7 separate regions of the Homo sapiens genome follow, and all the other regions are linked to region 6. The links are contacts of gene promoters, found by promoter capture Hi-C in blood cells and fetal thymus (Javierre and others, 2016). All regions are on one chromosome and are shown on one strand. Each heading gives the region's core, a stretch centred on a gene start or on the middle of the fragment in contact. The rest is flanking DNA. Distances are from core to core; before and after follow the strand shown.

Region 1 (2,700 bases), core at 72-2,571, 2.6 Mb after region 6:
GAGGATCCTTTGAGCCCAAGAGCTCAAGGCTGCAGTGAGCCATGATCACGCCTTTGCACTCCAGCCTGGGCCACAGAGTGAGACCCTGTCTTAAAAAAAAAAAAAAAAAAAAAGAATAAGCTTGCCAATGTAAAGGAAAGTGCATGTCCTGGAAGGTGTGAGTAGACGCAGGAAGGAGAGGTAGAGGAGGGAGGGCTCATGCTGTCATCTGAAAGAGAGAGGAGTCCTCAGGAGTTCTAAAATTATATATATATAATATAATTATATAATATATATGTCTATATATAGGCCTATATAGGCCATATATATATGCCTATATATATAAAATAGGCATATGGCCTATATAGGCCTATTATATATATAGGCATATATATATATATATATATAGATATATAGATATATAGATATATATATATGGAATATATGATTGTCATAGAGTGCCCACCCAGGGTTGGACATTTATTTGACAGAGAAATCATCTTGTATTTGTTTAAATACTTTGTTTAATACTTTGTTTTCTCTATCACTTATATACTCTGCAGTTCTCTTGGCTCATCTCATGGGATGTGAACATCATAGAACATCATGCTGGCAACAGTTTTAACGTTTATAGATATGCAATTTCGGTTGCATCTATATATAAGCCAACAGCTTTAACTGGGTCTCAATCCATTTACCAATGCTAGAAGAAATCTTGTTTTTGCATTCATTGAAGAACCGATGTCATTCTCCAGTATGACAACTGAGTATTTCAAGTCCCGCTTCTTGAGCTTCTTGGACTCCTTCACCCCTGCGTAAGATGGGATTTGAGATGGAAGACTGGCATATGCCATGTCTTCCTTCTCTCTGCGTGATACTGATTTGTAAATTCACCTGCTTTTAATCAGTCTGTAATCTTGGGTGTCAGTGCCTCAGAGCTGCTCCTCCTGCATGTATAGACTGCAAAACAGTGGTAGGGAAGGAGCATTGCCAGGCAAAAGCCTCAGAAAAAAGAAAATAAAAACTCCACGACAAGCACCTTGTTTCTTCCAGATAGTGATATGAATTATAATAATGCCCTGGTAGTTAAAGCTACCATTTCAAGAAATTGCCAGTTCTTGGTCATCTAAGCACTTTGTTAACTCAGTTTTAAATAGGTTTATTGAGATATAATTTTCATACACAAAAGTTCATTCATTTAGAGTATACTATTCAATTTTTTTTTTTTTTTTTTTTTTGGAGGGAGTCTTGCTCAGTCACCCAGGCTGTAGTGCAGTAGAGTGATCTCGGCTCCCTGCAACCTCTGCCTCCCGGGCTCAAATGTTTCTCATGCATCGGCCTCCCAAGTAGCTGGATTACAGGCATGTGCCACCACACCCAGCTAATTTTTTTTTTTTTTTTTTTTTTAGTGGAGATGGGGTTTCACCATGTTGGCCAGGCTAGTCTCAAACTCCTGACCTCAAGGGATCCACCCACTTTGGCCTCCCGAAGTACTGGAATTATAGGTGTAAGCTACCAGGCCCGACCTACAATTCAATATTTTTAGCATATTTACAAAAATTGTGCAACCATTACTATAAACTACTTTTAGAACATTTGATCATTCCAAAAAGAAACCCTGTATCCATTAGTAGTCATTCCCCCTTCTCCCCTTCCTCCAGCCCTGGAAACCACTAGTTACTTTTTCTCTATATAGATTTTAAATTCTGGACATTTTATGTAACTGGGATCACACTATATGTGAACTTTTGTGCACGGCTTCTGACCCCTAGAATAATGTTTTGAAGTTCAACCATATTGTAGCATTTATCAGTACTTCATTCTTTTCAATGGCTAAAAAATATTCCATGATAAGGACATACCACATTTTGTTTTTCCATTCCTCAGTTGATGGACATTTGGGTTGTTTCTACTTTTTGGCTATTATTAATAATACTGCTATGAAAATTGAGGTACCAGTTTTAATGTGTACATATGTTTTTAATTCTCTTGACTATATTGCTAGGCCAAATAATGAGTCTATGTTTAGCTTTGGAGGAGCTGTCAAACTATTTCCACAGTCACCACAAAGGTTAATGTCCCACCAACAATGTGTGAGGTTTCCATTTTCTCCACATCCTTGTCAACAATCGCTATTGCCTGTCTTTTTAATTTATCTTAGTAAGTGTGAAGTGGCATCTCACTGTGATTTTGATTTTTTTTATGTCAATAGTTTTTGAGGAACAGGTGTTGTTTGGTTACATGGATAAGTTTTTTATGGTGATTTCTGGGATTTTGGTGCATCTGTCACCCGAGAAGTGTACACTGGACCCAATGTGTAGTCTTTTAACCCTCCTCCACTTCCCACCCCTCCCCACGAATCCCCAGAATCCATTATATAATTGTTATGCCTTTGCGTTCTCATAGCTTAGCTCCCACTTATAAGTGAGAACATATAATGTTTGGTTTTCCATTCCTGAGTTACTTCACTTAGAATAATGGTATCCAACTCCATCCAGGTTGCTGTGAATGCCATTATTTCCTTCCTTATTATAGCTGAGTAATGAAGCTTTTTAGTTTCGTTAAGTTCCATCTATTTATCTTTGTTTTTGTTGCATCTATCTATCTGTCTATCTGTCTGCCTGCCTATCTATCTATCTATCTATCTATCACATTTTCTTTATCCACTCATTGGTTGATGGGCATTTACGCTGGTTCCATATTTTTGCAGTTGCAAATTGT
Region 2 (2,700 bases), core at 195-2,694, 2.5 Mb after region 6:
TTAAGAAAAATGAGTCTATCTGCCTGGTGCTTCCATCATGTGTCCCACCTGTGGAGTGCAGAGGCACCTGTAAGCTACTCTTGTCACCTATGCTTCCTGGAAACATGTAGGAAAGTGCTTCTTGTGCAGCAGGTCTTAAGGAGGTGCCATCTGAGCTGGCTAACAGGAGGCCTCTCCATCGCTCTCTCCTCTCACGTCTTCCTCTCCTCTTGTTTCCTGTCGTTTACTGTATTCCCCTTAAGGAAACCAATTTTTCACTTTTTTTCAGCTCTCTGCTGTTTACTGAAACTAACTTTTGCTTCCACTTTTATGCCTCATTTAAAAATTTAAATTTTCCCCTTTTAAAGCTTGCATGTAAATTGGTAAAAAAAAAAAAAAAAAAAAAAAATGCCCCCAAACTCTGCCACTGCCAGACAGATAAATCTGATTATATAACAATGTTAGAATTATGTCTGACTTCATAAGTCTGTGTGTAGGAAATAAATGGGGACCGGAGGGAGAAACTATTTCTAACTGTAGTCGCTTCATCCAAGAAAATTAATAAAAATGGTTATTAATTTGGAAACTTGGACCCTGAAGAAAAGATGGTAGTGATGTCTTATTAGAGAAAATGATTTGCTATTGCCATTATTCATGGGCAGCTAAAGCATGAATTTGGCATGCCTTTGTAAGCCTGCATCAATAAAATCAACAGCACTTCACATAGCATAAGTTTAGTTTTGTATTCATTCCACCTAATAATACTTTATCCCTTCTATTTTTATTGGTTCATTTGAGTCTCCCCATGCTTTGCTCTCATTAAAGTACATTAGTGACTATGGCGATGAGAGTGTAAGGGATGTGGAAGGAACACAGGATATAAATGAGACCATTTACACGCCAGGTGAGCTCTAGAGCACAGGACATGAAATAATGAAACCAGTGATTTCTACAGATTCCTCTGGAAATGATGGGGCCATTTCATTTCATTATCCGATACATAAATTTAAATGAGATCATTGTTATTATTCAGCACTCTCATTGCATGAAGGGCTATCTCTGAATGTTTTACATTTTATTGTGAAACCTTAGTCGGATGCTGCATCTTCATTGTAACCCACCATTATCTTTCTGATGATGCTCTGAGAGATTATCCTTATGGCTGAGATTTATGTGGTTCACTCAAGCAAATGCTAAATACTTGCAAGTCAAAGATTTTCATACGGATTTTATGGTGTAGAAAATGTTAGCTTCATAGTCATTGTTGCAGTTGTGGTTGTAAGGAAGTTTAAATTTTTCCCCTGAAAATTCGATCATTTGAGTCTATAAAACAAACTGATAATAGACAGGTTAATAGGAAGAAAGGCATACAAATTTATTAACATGCACATGTGTGCATGGGAAGCATAAAAAGTATAGAAACATAAAGAAAGACAAGATGGTTGTCACTTAAACATCCTCTTCATTGGGGAGAGGGAATATGGGGGCTTATAGGAGTGAATATTTTCAGGGAAAATGAAAGAGCTAAAGAACAATGTCATGGGACCAAGTTTCCCTGGGCTCTGGGGGAGGTGGCATCACAGGTTATCGGAGGATGAAGGGAGGAAAGCCTAGCAAACCAAAGCTATCTTGTTATGCAGATGAAGTGTCTCAGGTAATGTCAGAGCTGCCCTGGGAGAGAATGGAGGGTTACCTGAGTTGGAGTTAATCTTTCCTAGATTTGGACAAGGGGTGGCATGCAGAGAAAGCCTGGCTGGTTGTTTCACCACACACGTTTTTTTGAATAACCATTTCGAAAGATGTCAAAGTAGGATGTTTTGGAGTGAAATATTTTTGGTTATCTTTAAGGTTCACAGTTCAGTGGTGAATTCAGCAGAAATAATCTACTTTAGGTAATGGTGAAGCATTACGGGTGGTGAGATCAGACTTCGCTTCTGTGTAAAGAAAACCCCATTATCCAGCCCGTTGCTTGCCACTGTGAGTCGCTGGGAAGGACCAATTCAGAGAAAAGGCAAACCGTGCTCTTACAGATCAAGTATCCCTCCCTGTCTCTTCCACCATCACTGCCATGACGGATCATGCACATAGCAGCCAAATCCAGGACTGAGGATGGGAATGAGCATGACCAAAGATTGTTTCCGTTTTTCACAGCCAAGCAACTGCTTCCCATCAACACACTCAAACTGAGCCCTGCATACCATTGTGAGCCTCGGGAAGCTAAGGATGGTGCATTTTTTTTCAGTTATGTTCAATTTCCCCATTCTGGACTTTACCCTTCATCTGCTTATCTCCCTCTTAGTGTAGCCCAATCCAAGCTCCTACAGTACACTGTGCAGCAGCCAATAAGTACAGAAACAAGGTGCTGGGGCAAGAAAGGTAACTTTATTCATAGAGCAGCGAAGCAAGGAGATGGCAGACTAGTGTCCTAAAGAACCATCTCAAGTTAATAGAATTTTAGGCTCCTTTTACGTTAGTAGAAGGCAGAAGAGGGAGGGGATTGAGACCAAGAGGGGACCAATAACCACAGACATCTGGGTAGCAGCAAGGGTCCGAGGAGGTTGTAAAGCTTCTTTATTCTTGGTCAGTTGACTTCAGATAATGTCAGTCAGGTCACCGTGTTCCTATAAATCTTTGGCATCATTAATTGTGTACATATTTTCTTATGTCCTCAGGGGGTTAATGTTGGAAAAAAGACTATTACTATCTTTTCTTTAAAAAGTT
Region 3 (2,700 bases), core at 44-2,543, 2.5 Mb after region 6:
AAATTTTAGAAATAACATGGAGTTTTTGATATAAGTCAGGCATTATTCTGAACATGTTACATATATTTTATCTTCAGGGTAATCTTTTGAGTTATCACAAAGATCTTTTTATCGCTGTAGTTTTTCTGAGAAGAAAATCAAGTTCCAGTGAGGCAGAGTAATCGTACAGTAAAAGGTTAACTCAGCAGGCTTTGGTGCTCAAACCTTACACTATTCCAGACAAAGGACTGGCTGTTGAAGGGCTCCTGCATGATGACGTCTGAGGCCTGATAGAAATGTTTGTGTGACGGAGGTTTGGGCCATGCTATACCAGCTTGCTCAGATAGTTTGTGCTATCAGTGTGACTTATGATGCTCCCTTGTTGTACGCTTGGGGCTTTGGGCCGTGCTCTATCAGCTGGACCTTGGTGGGGCTGGAGAGTCAGTAGCTAAGGTCAGCTATCAAGACACTGCCTGCCTACATGACGAACCCCCAGTAAAAACCCTGGACACCAAAGGCCCAGGCGAGCTTCCCTGGATGGCAACACCTCGCAGGTGTGTCACACACCATTCCTAGGGCATTAAGCACTTGTCATGCAACTCCACTGGGGGTAGACAACTTGAAGCTTGTGTCTTTTTTTTCTCTCAGACCTTTCCCTGTGTGCCTTTTCTCTTTGCTGATTTTAATCTGTGTCCTTTCACAGTCACAAACTATAACTCTCCTGAGTCCTGTGAGTCCTTCCAGTAAATCATCAAATCTGAGAGTTGTCATGGGAACCACAGACACATCAACCCAAGGTCCCATAGTGGGGAAAGAAGATCTGCCTTTCTACATAAACAGAAACTTCTCAAAAGAAGACATTTATGTGGCCAACAAACATATGAAAGAAAGGTCAACATCACTGATCATTAGAGAAATGCAAATCAAAACCACCATGAGATACCATCTCATGCCAGTCAGAATGGCAATTATTAAAAAGTCAAGAAACAACAGATGCTGGCGAGGCTGTGGAGAAACAGGAACACTTTTATACTGTCAGTGTGGTGATTCCTCAAAGATCTGGAACCAGAAATATCATTTGACCCAGCAATCCCATTACTGGGTATACACCCAAAGGAATATAAATCATTCTAGTATAAAGATACATGCACATGTATGTTTATTGCAGCACTATTCATAATAGCAAAGACATGGAACCAACCCAAATGCCCATCAATGATAGACTACATAAAGAAAATGTGGCACATATACACCATGGAATACTATGCAGTCAAAAAGGAATGAGATCATGTCTTCTGAAGGGACAAGGATAAAGCTGGAAACCATCTCAGCAAAATAACACAGGAACAAAAAAACCAAACACCGCATATTCTCACTCATAAGTGGGAGCTGAACAATGAGGACACATGGACACAGGGAGGGGAACAACACATATCAGAGCCTGTCGGTTGTGGGGGCTAGTGGAGGGAGAGCATTAGGAAAAATAGCTAATGAATGCGGGGCTTAGTACCTCGGTGACAGGTTGATAGGTGCAGCAAACAACCATGGCACACATTTAGCTGTGTAACAAACCTGCATGTTCTGCAGGGTTTTCTAAAAGTAAAATTAAAAAAAAAAAAAAAATGAAGAAGAAGATCTGCCTTTCACCAAAGCCCCTGATTTAAACTACCCCCAAGATGCTCACTTCTCAAATTACATGGGCTCGGGGTGTAATCATTGGATTATTAGGTTTGCCTTTGCTTCTGTCAGATGTGCTTACATATGACAGTCAGGCCAAAGTCACTGGCTTCGTATAAACAAATCTTCTTTTTCCACAATGATTTCTCAAATCCTCATTATTCTTGCTAGCAGATATCTTTTTCACTTGAAAGATGAAAAGATCTTTCCTAATCTGTAAGAAAAACAAATCCAAACACAACCACTTTTTATAAATTTTGGGGAGGAAGACATACTGCTGACAATATTACAAGAAGGCTTTGAGTTGCCAGGAAAATATCAGGCTTGAAGCTTGTGACAGAGAGGAGGAGAATTGTGTCTAAGTCTTAAGCTTTATGCCATAGATCCCCCAATTACACTAGAAATTGACTAGAAGGCAGTTCATTATTACAGTAATTTGGATAGTAAATGCATCATCAAATTTTTCATTTAGAAAAGATCATGATGATTATTTTTAAAAATTACCCCTTGTATAATGTAAGCCTGAGAAAGTTTACAAAGTACTAATAAGGCCTACCTTTTGGCTCTTGGAAGCATCTTGTCATCGGTCCATATTTGGAAACAGCTGTCACTCATGTGCTCCTGCCACCACCCCCAGGAGCCCAAGGGTCCCTGTCACTATGTGTCCCTCTTCGTTTCTTCCTGTGTTTCCCAAACTAGAGCTCAGAACAAAGCAGGCACAGCTCTGGGCCTGAAAACTTCTGTCTGACTCGACCTTTTCCCTGTGGACCTCTCTGGGGACTTTGTTCTTCTCAGACATCAATTCCAGAAGGATCGTTGGGCTATTAGAATTAATTAATATAATTTTATAATTAACTTTTATAATATTAAGCTCTTAATTATCCTGTAAGCAGCAATTACAGAACCCATGGTTCTTCTGCCACCACCTCCGTGACTTATATGTGGAAATCAGCGTTTTCACAGGAAGTTCTGCTACTTTATGGAGAACCCACTGTCCGTGAGGTGGTTGGACATTGCATTTCATTAAAGGGATAGGGAGGGAGG
Region 4 (2,700 bases), core at 3-2,502, 2.6 Mb after region 6:
GTAATCAACACTGGGGGGAAGATTTTTCCATATATATATGTGTGTGTGTGTGTTTGTGTGTATAATCTTCCACTTTTTTTTTTTTTTTGAGATGGAGTCTCACTCTGTCACCCAGGCTGGAGTGCAGTGGTATGATCTCGGCTCACTGCAAGCTCCGCCTCCTGGGTTCATGCCATTCTCCTGCCTCAGCCTCCTGAGTAGCTGGGACTACAGGCGCCCACCACCACGCCTGGCTAATTTTTGGTATTTTTAGTAGAGATGGGGTTTCACCATGTTAGCCAGGATGGTCTCGATCTCCTGACCTCATGATCCGCCCATCTCGGCCTCACAAAGTGCTGGGAGTACAGGCGTGAGCCACCATGCCCAGCCTTCCACTTTTAAATTTAAGTCAATGGATTAATTCAACAAACACTAATTGAGCATCTACTCTGTGCCATGTGCATACTGGGGATGGTGCAAAACAATCAAGGCAGCAGAACTCCTTCTCCCAGAGCTTGCCCGATGCTTCACATCCTTGGAGCTGAGGGCTGCCTGAAGATTCTTGATCTGGTTGGGCATCTTCCCTGAGCAAGCCAGAGAGAGCTGAATTTATCCAACCTGTGCACATCATAAGTAGGGGAATCTCAAATTTGTTTCTTAATTAATTGATTAATTGTTTAATTGATACATTGTTATTGTACATATTTATGGGCTCTAATTTGATGTTCCAATACATATATACGTTGTATAAGGATTAAATCAGAGTATTTAGCATGTCCATCGCTTCATGCATTTGTCCTTTTTTTTTTTTTTTTTTTTTTTTTGAGACAGAGTCTCACTCCGTCACCAGGCTGGAGTGCTGTGGCGTGATCTCAGCTCACTGAAACCTCTGACTCCCTGGTTCAAACGATTCTCCTGCCTCAGCCTGCTGAGTAGCTGGGATTACAGGCATGTGCCACCACACCCAGCTAATTTTTGTGTTTTTAGTAGAGACGAGGTTTCACCGTGTTAGCCAGGATGGTCTCGATCTCCTGACCTCGTGATCCACCCACCTTGGCCTCCCAAAGTGCTGGGATTACAGGCGTGAGCCACGGCGCCCGGCCTGCATTTGTCATTTCTTGGTGGTGGGAACATTCAAAAGTCTCTCTTCAGCTATTTTGTAATCTATGGTATCTTACTGTTAATCATTCTCATCCAACTATGCAATAAGATACCAGAACTTCTTCCTCCTAACTGTAACTTTGTATCCATTTGTCAACCTCTCTCTGTCCTCCCCATCCCCCTTCCCAGTCACAGAAAGACAAATACTGCAGGATCTCACTTATATGTAGAATCTAAAAAAAAAAAAATTCTTAAAGTTGATATCCTAGAAGCAAAGAGTAGAACAATGGTGATCAAATTTCTGATCTATAACCTTGAACACTAGTACCATTCTGTTAAAGTACTTATTTCTAGTTTATCTAGTTTAGATTTTTAATTTGTTTTTGTTTTTGTCTTACTGTCAGTCACTACTTGCCTCACTTTTTACATTGAAATAGCCCCCTTGGGTAGTCATTAACTGCATATTTAGATGTGCCATGTCTGTTGGGTGTGAGCCTGCTGATCTGGTATTTTAAATTCTTAAATTTCATGCCAGACACGACAGACTTGAAGGGAAGCAAGTGATTACCATGGCATTCAAAGATAGAACTCTGAATGCCACCAGCAGAATGTCACCACTTGCAGTCATAGCTGAAAGCAATTGGGTAGAGCACATTTTTCTTCAGGATTTAAGAATGTAAAATATAACTGTATTTTTGATCTTTAAATTAAACCTGATGCATTCCAGGCATTAAAAACAACCACGACAACTCTATTTCTCAACCCCTCTAGAACAGGCTTTCACAAGATGGAACTAAGTCTCGGGTCTGTTGTGTGTTCATCTTGAGACCACCACTCCACTCTTTCCCTCAGGCCCAGTGGCGTGGCTTGAGACTGGATCCACAAAACGGATTAGAGATTGCAAAGTGAGCAGAGTGGTTAGCAGAAGGCAGGTTGTCATCATGGAGCTTCACCAGGACCAAGCTGGGGTCCAGAAACATCCTAGTACTGACTTGGTCATGATAGACAGTGCATCTAGACAAGCTCTGGCTCCCAGCGCCAGGCAGGATCCCAAGTGTTGGGCGAAGTCAATGGGGGGGCCCAGCCCCACTGTGTAGGCACCCAGAGGTGGTATCGCCCATGCAACATCTGGGACCCACTGATACCAAAGCGTTATTGCTACTTATCTTGAATTCAGATTCAATTGGGCATCCCATATTTTATCTGGCAACCCTATGAGAGGGCACTTCCCAGGAGCAGCAGAAGTGAGGTCCAGAAAAGCTGCCTGAGAGCATGCGTTCCACCACGGGCAGCAAGGGCAGTGGCCTCAGAGACCAACTGCTGCAGGAAGGGAAATGGTCCAAAGAGAAGGGGCCTCCTTGGCTGCCAAACGTGGTGGGCACAGAGAGAGCCTCTATTTGTCTTCCCTGAAACACGCAACTTCCCATAAGAAGGCCAGGAGGACCCCCTCCTCCTGAACACCAGAGCTGTCTTCAAGTGCAGTTCTTCTCTGGGGAAGAGCCTTGGGCTCCCCCTGGAGGTCACGAAGCGCAACAGGCCTTGTGTTGGGCAGAGCATCGCTGTCCTTCACCTCCTACGGAGAAAGAGGGGTTTCAGGGAGTAATGACCAGCACCCCCACC
Region 5 (2,700 bases), core at 132-2,631, 2.1 Mb after region 6:
AAAGGCTCTTTCAGAGGTTATTGCTCACTTCTCGCCTCTCCGTGCTGGATGATGGTGGTCCATTAATGTCTGGGCGGCTGACAAGGCCAGGCAGAAAGTATTTTATGGATTTGGGCTCGTCTAATTAAAACTCCCTTGGGAGGGGTTGGCTTTGCTTTTTAGCGGTTGTCATCTTGTCCTGAGGTTTTATTTGCTTCATTTGGCAGCACGGGCTTCCTCTTTGTCACCCTTTCTGGGTGACTTGCCAGCAATCAACCAGCCTTAGAAGCCATGCAAAGGGGCCATGTCAGTGTCTTGGAAAAGACGACAGTGGAGAGAAAGTGTTGGCCAGAAAAGCTTCTGCTGAGTAGAGCCAAGCCGCCCAGCGACAGTGTATTTGTAGGATTAAATATAGACACCTTCCATGAGCGGGGGATGGTGAAAATGGGGAAGAGACGTGGCAGCACCCTAGCAGGAGGCCCTGTACACTCACCATGGGGCTGCTGAAGGCCGTGTGCTTGGACAGCATGCTGGCCCTCTTGGCCTCGGCCCGGCTGCCCGTGCGCCGGTGGGACTTGGTGCTCTGGGTTCTGTGCACCACCCGGACACTCTGGTGGCTGCCGATGCTGCCGCGCTGGGACACCGAGCCCCCTCTGGGCACCACCTCCTCCTCCTCCGAGTCTGCCTCTTGGTACCTGGCCAGACGCTGCGCTGCGGGGAGAGGGCGCAGGGTGAGGCATCATGGGGGAAGGCTGGGCGGAGCAGAAAGAAACCATTCAGTGTGTTTTAGGTTCCGCGAGGCTTCCGGCAGGGCAGCCCCACAGGATTCACCACCCTTGCTCTCTAATAGCAAGGCACGGAGAACATCCTCAGTCAGCTGCAACCTGGGGAGGTTGATATTCTCAACTCTGTTTCACAGAGACTGACTTTCATCTCAGAGAACGTAAGGAGCTTTCTAAGGTCGCACAACTTAGGGGAAGGGGAACGGGTTGACGTCCAGCCGGTCTCTTCAGGTAGAGCCTAGGTGTACATGGGGTAGGGTGGCAGGTGGCCGGGAGAGGGAGGCAGGACAGAGGGTGGCAGGCCTTCCAGTCATGCTGGGATGACGGTGCTCACCTGGTGCTGAGCTCCTTGCCCACATGGACGGTGGCCACCATCTGCTCCTGTCTGGATGAAATGCTATGGCACAGGGGGGCTCACACTCCCAGATTGCACAGCTTGGACCCCTACAGCTAGGGTTTGGACTCAGCTTTGAAACTCCATCCAAGATGATCTTGACTGTGATGTTGCCCTGCTGAGCAAATTCCCCATGACCTGGTGAACGCTGGGCAAATCCCCTTTAGAGGTGCCTGCGCTGTGGCTTCTTGCTAACCCATGGCTCTGAACCAGTTTTCTGGGTTTTGCCCAGGGAGGACAGCTTGTTTCACCGTGGATGAGCAAAATGGAGACCATTCATGAGGATTACTTATCAGAACAACCGTTTAATCAGAACTTCAAGCACAGGCATGGTGCTGAGTCAAAGCAGCAGGGGCCTGTCAAGAGGCCGGAGAAGGAGATACTTATGGAGCCGGCCAGCCGCGTGGACCACTGCGCATCTCTTAATAGACCCTCTGTGAGAGATGAGAAAAATGGGGATAAAAAAGGGGAAGTCACCTGCCCACCATCACAAGGCTGAGTACTTGCCAATGCCAGGATTCCAACTCAGGGAGATCCTAATTCCAGGAGCAGATGCCCCGCAAATGCCTCCCCAGCTCTCGGGTGGCATCAGCCCAGTGCACCGGAAGCAAGGACGCACAGAACCTGGACACATGACTCTGTCCAGCATGAGGTGAGGGGCTGGGCTTCAGCTGCCAAGAAAGTGGACTGGCCCATCCCACCCTCCCCCAGCAGTGGTCCCGCACATCCGGAGCTCCATGGAGCCATCCTTCAGGGCCCCCTCCTTCCCTCAGAGGCTGTGGGGGCCACGGCTGGTATGTTGGTGTTCTGAAGCAGTTTCTGATCGGCAGTGGCCCCTGGGATGCCTTCCATGTCCCCAGGAAAGATGAGGCCCAGGAGCAGGTAATGCCCCCTCCTGGGCATGCACAGCCAGCTAGCTCCAGGTCATCTTGCCAAGCTGTCAGAGGGGGCACACCCAAGGCTTCCACAGCCGGTTCTGGTACGTGAGCAGGGCTTGGGGCTCAGAGTCCATCTGAACTCCTTTATGAGTGACATCTGGAGAGGTCAGATCATAAGATAACTGGCTGATGACGCTCCTTGCCTGGGTGCCTGTCAATAGCTAGCTGATCCAGGCACTTCTCTAAAACACGCTGCTGAGATGTATGTGGTTTCATTCATCACCAGGAAGCTCCCTGTGTCTTGAGGCAAGGAAACCCTCTGGTTTTATGGTAGCATTTGGCAACTGTCAGAATCTTTCTGTAATCTTAGTTGGGATCCTGCCCCTGGGAGCCTAAGCTTCCAACTTTATTATTATCTTTTAAATGTATTATTATTATTAATGGATAAATCAGTACTGTATACATTCATGGGGTGCAATGTGATGTTCTGATGTATGTGTACAATGTGGCATGATTAAATCATGCTAATTAACAAATCTGTCACTTTGCTTGCCTATCATGTTTTTATGATGAGACAGTTAAAATTTACTCTCTGAGTCGTTTTGAAATGTGTAATACATTTTTATTGCCTCTGGTCACCTGGCTGTGCAACAGATCTCAAAACCTA
Region 6 (2,700 bases), core at 130-2,629:
CAGGGCGGATGGGCGGGGGCCCCTGGCGCATGGGCGGCGGCACCTGCCAGGTAACGGCTGGTGCCTGCCAGGTGACCTGCGTGGTCTGCCAAGTCAGGGGAGTGGCCTGCCAGCCTTGCTGCGTGGCCTGCCATCCTGGCGAGGTCGCCTGCCAGCCCGGGGGTGTGGCTAGCTGCGCTGGGGGTGCCTGCGGGCCCTGGGGAACCTGCGGAGGAGCCCTTATAACTTGAGACTGGATTTGCAGGATCAGAGGCTGAGCCTGCGGGGCCCAAGAAGCCATCGGCTGTGCAGGTGGGGCCATCGGCTGTGCAGGTGGGGCCGCCGGCTGTGCCATCGGTGCTCCTGAAGCTGGAGGCTGGGTCATCGGAGCTCTCGCACCTGGAGGATGAATCATCAGGACTCCTGGACCTGGAGGCTTGGCCATCGGTGCTCCTGAAGGCTGAGGCTGGGTCATCATGGCTGCTGGAGGCGGCTGGACCATCGGTGCTCCCGGAGCAGCAGGCTGGACCATCAGGACTCCCGGAGTCAGAGGCTGGGCCATCAGGACTCCCGGAGCTGGAGGCTGGGCCATCGGTGTACCCGGAGGGGGAGGATGAGCCATCGGTGTCCCCGGAGGTGGAGGATGAGCCATCGGTGTCCCCGGAGGGGGAGGATGAGCCATCGGTGTCCCCGGAGGGGGAGGATGAGCCATCGGGGTCCCCGGAGGAGGAGGATGCACCATCGGGGTCCCCGGAGGAGGAGGATGGGCCATCGGGGTCCCCGGAGGAGGAGGATGGGCCATTGGGGTCCCCGGAGGGGGAGGGTGGGACATTGGGGTCCCCGGAGGAGGAGGATGGGCCATGGGAGCTCCGGGAGCTGAAGGATGCACCATCAGGACTCCCGGGGTCGGAGGCTGGGCCATCGGGGCTCCCGGAGGTGGAGGATGCACCATCAGGACCCCGGGAGTCGGAGGCTTACCCATCGGGCCCCCCAGCGGGGGAGCCGGGACTATCGGGCCCCCTAGGGCAGGAGGCTGGGTCATCGGAACCACCGGGGCGGGCAGCTGGCCCTGTGGGGCCTCCCAGGCAGGCTGAGGTGCCTGCCAAGCGGCCAATGAAGCCTGCAAGTCAATTGGAGGTGGATCCCAAGGGACTGGCGGAGCCCGGGAGGAAGCGGGCGGGGCCCGCATCAGAACCGTAGGGCGGCTATAGACAGGCGGCTTCGGGGCCTCCGCCGGAGGACTCGAGTCACCCAGATTCTTACTTAGCTGCGACATGTCCCTTTGCTGACAGCTGGTGGGTCTTTTCCTCGGACAGCTGCTGGGCCTTTTCCTCCAGAGAGAAGAGAATGCCTACGTGGCTGTTCAGAGGCTCCCTCCCTGCTGAATGCTGAATAGGAAGTGAGTGCTGCTCGCTCCGCAGCTTTCCGCAGTAAGGAGGAGGGGGGAAGGGGGCTCAATCCCGCCCCTTCCCCGCCCCCGACCACCACAAGTGGATATTGCATAGGGGCGTCTACCGGAGTCCTGGCTGACACAGGATCCCTTCTCACTCTGTCCAGTCCCCAAATGCAGACCAGTCAGACTCCACATGGATGACTTTTCACAGGGGAGTGACAGGAACCCATCCATGTTTTAGAAAAATCACTGTACTGCAGTGTGGAGTGGGAGCAGACCACTGGAAACATGGAAGGTATCCAAGACGGCGGGGGGAGATGGTGTGGTCTGGGCTAAGATGTGAGGCGGAGAATGAAAAAAGCGCATTTACATAAGAGAGTTCCAGGAGTTATAGCAGACAGATACCTGTATTATAATTGAATAAAGGAGTCAAAGACATGGAAAAGGCACACAAGTCCCTGCCTGGAGAAAGTGGGAAGTTGCAGGGACTGTTACTCTCTTAGGGTCCCAGGAGAGGCACACGGGAAGAGAGGCTGATGAGTATTGGCAGACACAGGGCATTTGCGGTGCTGTGGGACTGCCAAGGAGAGATACCCTGTAGGCACTCCTGTATGATGTCTTGGGAGTCCTGCTTGGCTATTCCTCATGAAAATAGAGTTGTGGGAGGGAATGTGGTTGCACTGGGTCTTGAAGAACACAGGCATGTTAGAGACACATGGAGAAAAGGGACAGCAGCGAGTAGAGAGAGAGGAAAAGAAGTCACGGAACTGAGACATGCCACACATCAGTGGAAGACAGCATTTTTAGTATGGGAAAACTGCCTGTGGAATGGCTCGGATGCAGGAACAGAGTAGGTTTCTCAGTATTTTTCATCTGCAGAATGGGAAAGAAATTTAAAAAATGAAAACCAAATAACGCACCTGAAGATAACAAAATGGGTATATAAATAGATCAAAAATTGATATATTTGGATATATAGGAAAAACAGGCAAAGAATAAAAAAATTTCTGGGGAAACTTCTCGTGACAAAAATCAGTTTAAATATGAGACAAATCAAGTATTAACAGATAAAGCAGATGACAATAGTATTATTGGGCAATGCTATACAACTTTATGGTGAGAGGAAGTGATAATCTCAGTAATTGAAAAGCTTTCTGGAAATATACAAAGCACTAAATATCAAGGATGTTTCGTTTAAATAGGCTGTTGGCAGCCTACGGCAGGAGTCCAGAGTGACAAAACGTGCCACCAGGGGGCAGATGAGGACGATGAAGGGTACACCCCACTCCTTCCCAGGTACCCTTAGCCAGGGGTCCTCAAATTTGGTA
Region 7 (2,700 bases), core at 91-2,590, 2.3 Mb after region 6:
AGGGGGTCCCTCAGCTTCCATGGCAAAGCTGCCTCTGCTCCAGCCTTAGCCCTGCCCCCCCGCCGCCCCCCCCCCCCGACCCCAGTTTGGATACCTGAAGCCTACCCCAGGCGATTGAACACAAAGCATTTCACTAACTTTCACAGCCTGTAAGCTTCACCAGCTGAGCAGAAGCTGCGGTTGGGCTGGGTGCATGACCTGCAGCCCTGGAAGTGAGGGCTCAGAGAGTCCCCTCAGTCACAGCTGCATGAAGCCCAGATGCTTCTCATTATGTTTCTGTCCAAGCTGCCTGGCCAGGAGGTTTGACCCAGCCCTTGGTTTGTACTTCCTGCACGGTGGCATCCAAGCGTGTTTTTTAAAAAAACACATATGTAAAAATGGTTAACCATACTCAACCTCTTCTGTCTCTGAGGAACAAGCAGTTTCTGTTGCATGTTCTAGATACTTGCTACCCAAAACAAGGCCCACAGGCCAGTGTCCTTAGCATCACCTGGGAGCTGGTTAAGAAAGTGCAATCTCAGGCCTCACCCCAGGCGCTGAAACAGAACCTGCATTTTCACAAGGGCCTTGGGTGTTTCGTGTTCAAATAATAAAGACTGACACCCCGGGACAGAAACAGTGGGGTGGGGCGGAAGGAGGGACAGGGGCAGTGGGGGTTAGATGGGGTGGGGGTGGGGGCTGTGCACCATTCTAAGTGCTTCCCAGGACTAATATATTTACTTCTCACTGCAGCTTGAAGCAATGTTATCTTGCCCTCAGTACAAAGTGAGCCCCAGGAAGTAGAGGCTCACCGCGGGTTTGGGCTAGGATAGGGTGCACCCACCATGTGGCCCAGGCCCTCACACCCACCTGGCTCCAGAGCATGGGGCCCGCTCCCCATTCTCCAGGCCTGGACCCTCTGTGCACCAACACCCGACTCATGAAAGAGCCAATAGGCTTCAACATACTATCTGTGGGACGTGTTTACTAAGCTGTGAAATTCCAGACACATATTCTCATGACTATTCTAATCCCTCCCATTACATGCAGTATGTGATGCGGAGGATGACGATGATATTTACTCCAAGATCATGGTTTTCTAGCATTCCTGGAAGCAGGACTGTGTCATTTTGCCAATACTCTACTCTTAGAAATACTGTAAGTTTTCACGTGATTTGGGTACAATTTGTCACTCTGTCACCCAGGCTGGAGTGCCGAGGCACAATCACAGCTCACTGCAGCCTTGACTTCCTGGCAATCCTCCCACCTCAGCCCCCTGAGTAGCTGGGATCACAGGCACACACTACCAAGCCTGGCTAACTAAAAAAAAAAATTGTAGAGACAGGTTTTTACTATGTTGCCCAGGCTGATAAACTCCTGAGCTCAAGCAATCCTCCCACCTCAGCCTCCCAGAGTTTTAGTATTACAAGCATGAGCCACCACACCCCGCTTGGCATAATTTCTTGCCTTTCTGGTAGAGAAGAGATTTCTCCCAGCCCCAGAGGTACCCACTCTTCTTTCCCAAAATTTTCAGAATGGACAGCACAAGCCTAGTGGCTCGATCCTGGCTGACTCCTGGCTTTCTTCTCTGCAGCGTGACATGGAAATACCAAGACCTTTCTTGATCATTGCTTCAGAAAGAGCTGGAAAAATTGCTTTACTCTCCTTAAACTCGAGTTCATTTACTTTTTCAAAGAGCGTTGGAAGGTATCATTCATTATGTTTGTGTCAGGGATGATTGGAGAAATTCATTTCCTCTGTTAAAGCCATTATATTTAGACTCCCTCCCTCAAGGTGATTCTCTGTTTTGGATATATATACGTATATAGACTTTTTCATTTCTGAAGCTATTAGTAACACGTGTTCAATTACTGGTGTAGAAAATGGATCTTAGACTGCTCTCAGTTCTTCAACCTGCATGTGTGGTCTATTTGTGATCCTAGAATCGATTTTGTTTCAAACAGCATTAAAGAAGAAACAAAAGGAATAGAGTAGAAACTATTGGAATGCACCATGCATTAGGTTTGCTAGGGCTGCTGTAACAAAGTCCCATAGACTGGAGGGCTTACACAACAGAAATGGATTGTCTCACTGTTCTGAAGCCTGTAGATTCAACATCAAGGTGCCTGCAGGGTTGGTTCCTTCCGAGGCCTTCTCCCTGGCTTGTAGACAGCAAGATGCCTTCCCCCTGTGTCCTCTGATGGTCATTCCCCTGCATCTGTCTGTCCTCATCTCCACTTCTTATAAAGACACCAGTCCTACCGGATTAAGGCCCACCCATATGAGTTCATTTCAACTTACCTCTATGAAGACCCCCCTCTCCAAATGAGGGAACATGCTGAGGTCCTGGGGGTCGGGGCTTCAACATATGAATTTTGCAGGAGGGACATAATTCGGCCTATAGCACATCATATCAGGTATTTTTTGTGAAACTTTAGCTTCAAGTGCGTGGTCTGTGTGTGTGTGTATGCATGCGCACATGTATTGGGTTACAATTTTAAGTATATTTCCTATGATGTAGGTGTTGGTCAAAAATATCTGAAAAACACAAGCTTGATTTGATGGTAGGGTGTCCTGTCAAGTGTGTTTCTCTTTGGGATGATGCAGAGATCGTGGGATCTGGAAGCCAGCTGGGAAGGCTAGGAATGAACTGTGAGATGAGCTCTTCTTGCACGTCTTGCCCCGCTTTATTTAATTATTGTTTGTTTTCTCTAGTTTTGG

What was found. Contacts are between HindIII fragments. The CHiCAGO score rates a contact against its expected background, and 5 or more counts as called.
Region 1: a fragment that was not itself captured here is called in contact with the fragment with the promoter of MAGEL2 in region 6 in 2 of 17 cell types (M2 macrophages and naive B cells); the score reaches 9.6 in M2 macrophages.
Region 2: a fragment that was not itself captured here is called in contact with the fragment with the promoter of MAGEL2 in region 6 in 1 of 17 cell types (M0 macrophages); the score reaches 9.9 in M0 macrophages.
Region 3: a contact is called between a fragment that was not itself captured here and the fragment with the promoter of MAGEL2 in region 6, in 1 of 17 cell types (M0 macrophages). The highest score is 7.7, in M0 macrophages.
Region 4: a fragment that was not itself captured here is called in contact with the fragment with the promoter of MAGEL2 in region 6 in 15 of 17 cell types (M1 macrophages, M0 macrophages, M2 macrophages and 12 more); the score reaches 35.9 in M1 macrophages.
Region 5: a fragment that was not itself captured here is called in contact with the fragment with the promoter of MAGEL2 in region 6 in 4 of 17 cell types (M1 macrophages, M0 macrophages, monocytes and 1 more); the score reaches 7.8 in M1 macrophages.
Region 7: a fragment that was not itself captured here is called in contact with the fragment with the promoter of MAGEL2 in region 6 in 5 of 17 cell types (M0 macrophages, M1 macrophages, M2 macrophages and 2 more); the score reaches 20.0 in M0 macrophages.

Annotation. Positions count from the first base shown.
Region 1 is chr15:26,276,670-26,279,369 of GRCh38, forward strand. No RefSeq gene overlaps it. Among named protein-coding and RNA genes, the nearest start is that of LINC02248, 120 kb to the right of the region's middle. The HindIII fragment of the contact is 2,407 bases long and covers 119-2,525 here.
Region 2 is chr15:26,169,854-26,172,553 of GRCh38, forward strand. No RefSeq gene overlaps it. Among named protein-coding and RNA genes, the nearest start is that of LINC00929, 55 kb to the left of the region's middle. The HindIII fragment of the contact is 2,198 bases long and covers 346-2,543 here.
Region 3 is chr15:26,187,093-26,189,792 of GRCh38, forward strand. No RefSeq gene overlaps it. Among named protein-coding and RNA genes, the nearest start is that of LINC00929, 73 kb to the left of the region's middle. The HindIII fragment of the contact is 1,382 bases long and covers 603-1,984 here.
Region 4 is chr15:26,258,129-26,260,828 of GRCh38, forward strand. No RefSeq gene overlaps it. Among named protein-coding and RNA genes, the nearest start is that of LINC02248, 140 kb to the right of the region's middle. RefSeq lists an enhancer at 2,240-2,700. The HindIII fragment of the contact is 3,403 bases long and covers 1-2,700 here.
Region 5 is chr15:25,717,710-25,720,409 of GRCh38, forward strand. ATP10A (ATPase phospholipid transporting 10A (putative)) reads right to left here. Exons shown (of 21, transcript NM_024490.4): 8 at 473-690. Among named protein-coding and RNA genes, the nearest start is that of MIR4715, 130 kb to the right of the region's middle. The HindIII fragment of the contact is 2,094 bases long and covers 335-2,428 here.
Region 6 is chr15:23,646,488-23,649,187 of GRCh38, forward strand. It overlaps MAGEL2 (MAGE family member L2), which reads right to left and starts at 1,380. Exons shown (of 1, transcript NM_019066.5): 1 at 1-1,380. The coding sequence starts at 1,255. RefSeq lists an enhancer at 1-667. The HindIII fragment of the contact is 5,160 bases long and covers 1-2,520 here.
Region 7 is chr15:25,938,976-25,941,675 of GRCh38, forward strand. All of the region lies in intron 1 of LINC02346 (long intergenic non-protein coding RNA 2346), which reads left to right. Among named protein-coding and RNA genes, the nearest start is that of LINC02346, 38 kb to the left of the region's middle. The HindIII fragment of the contact is 2,377 bases long and covers 153-2,529 here.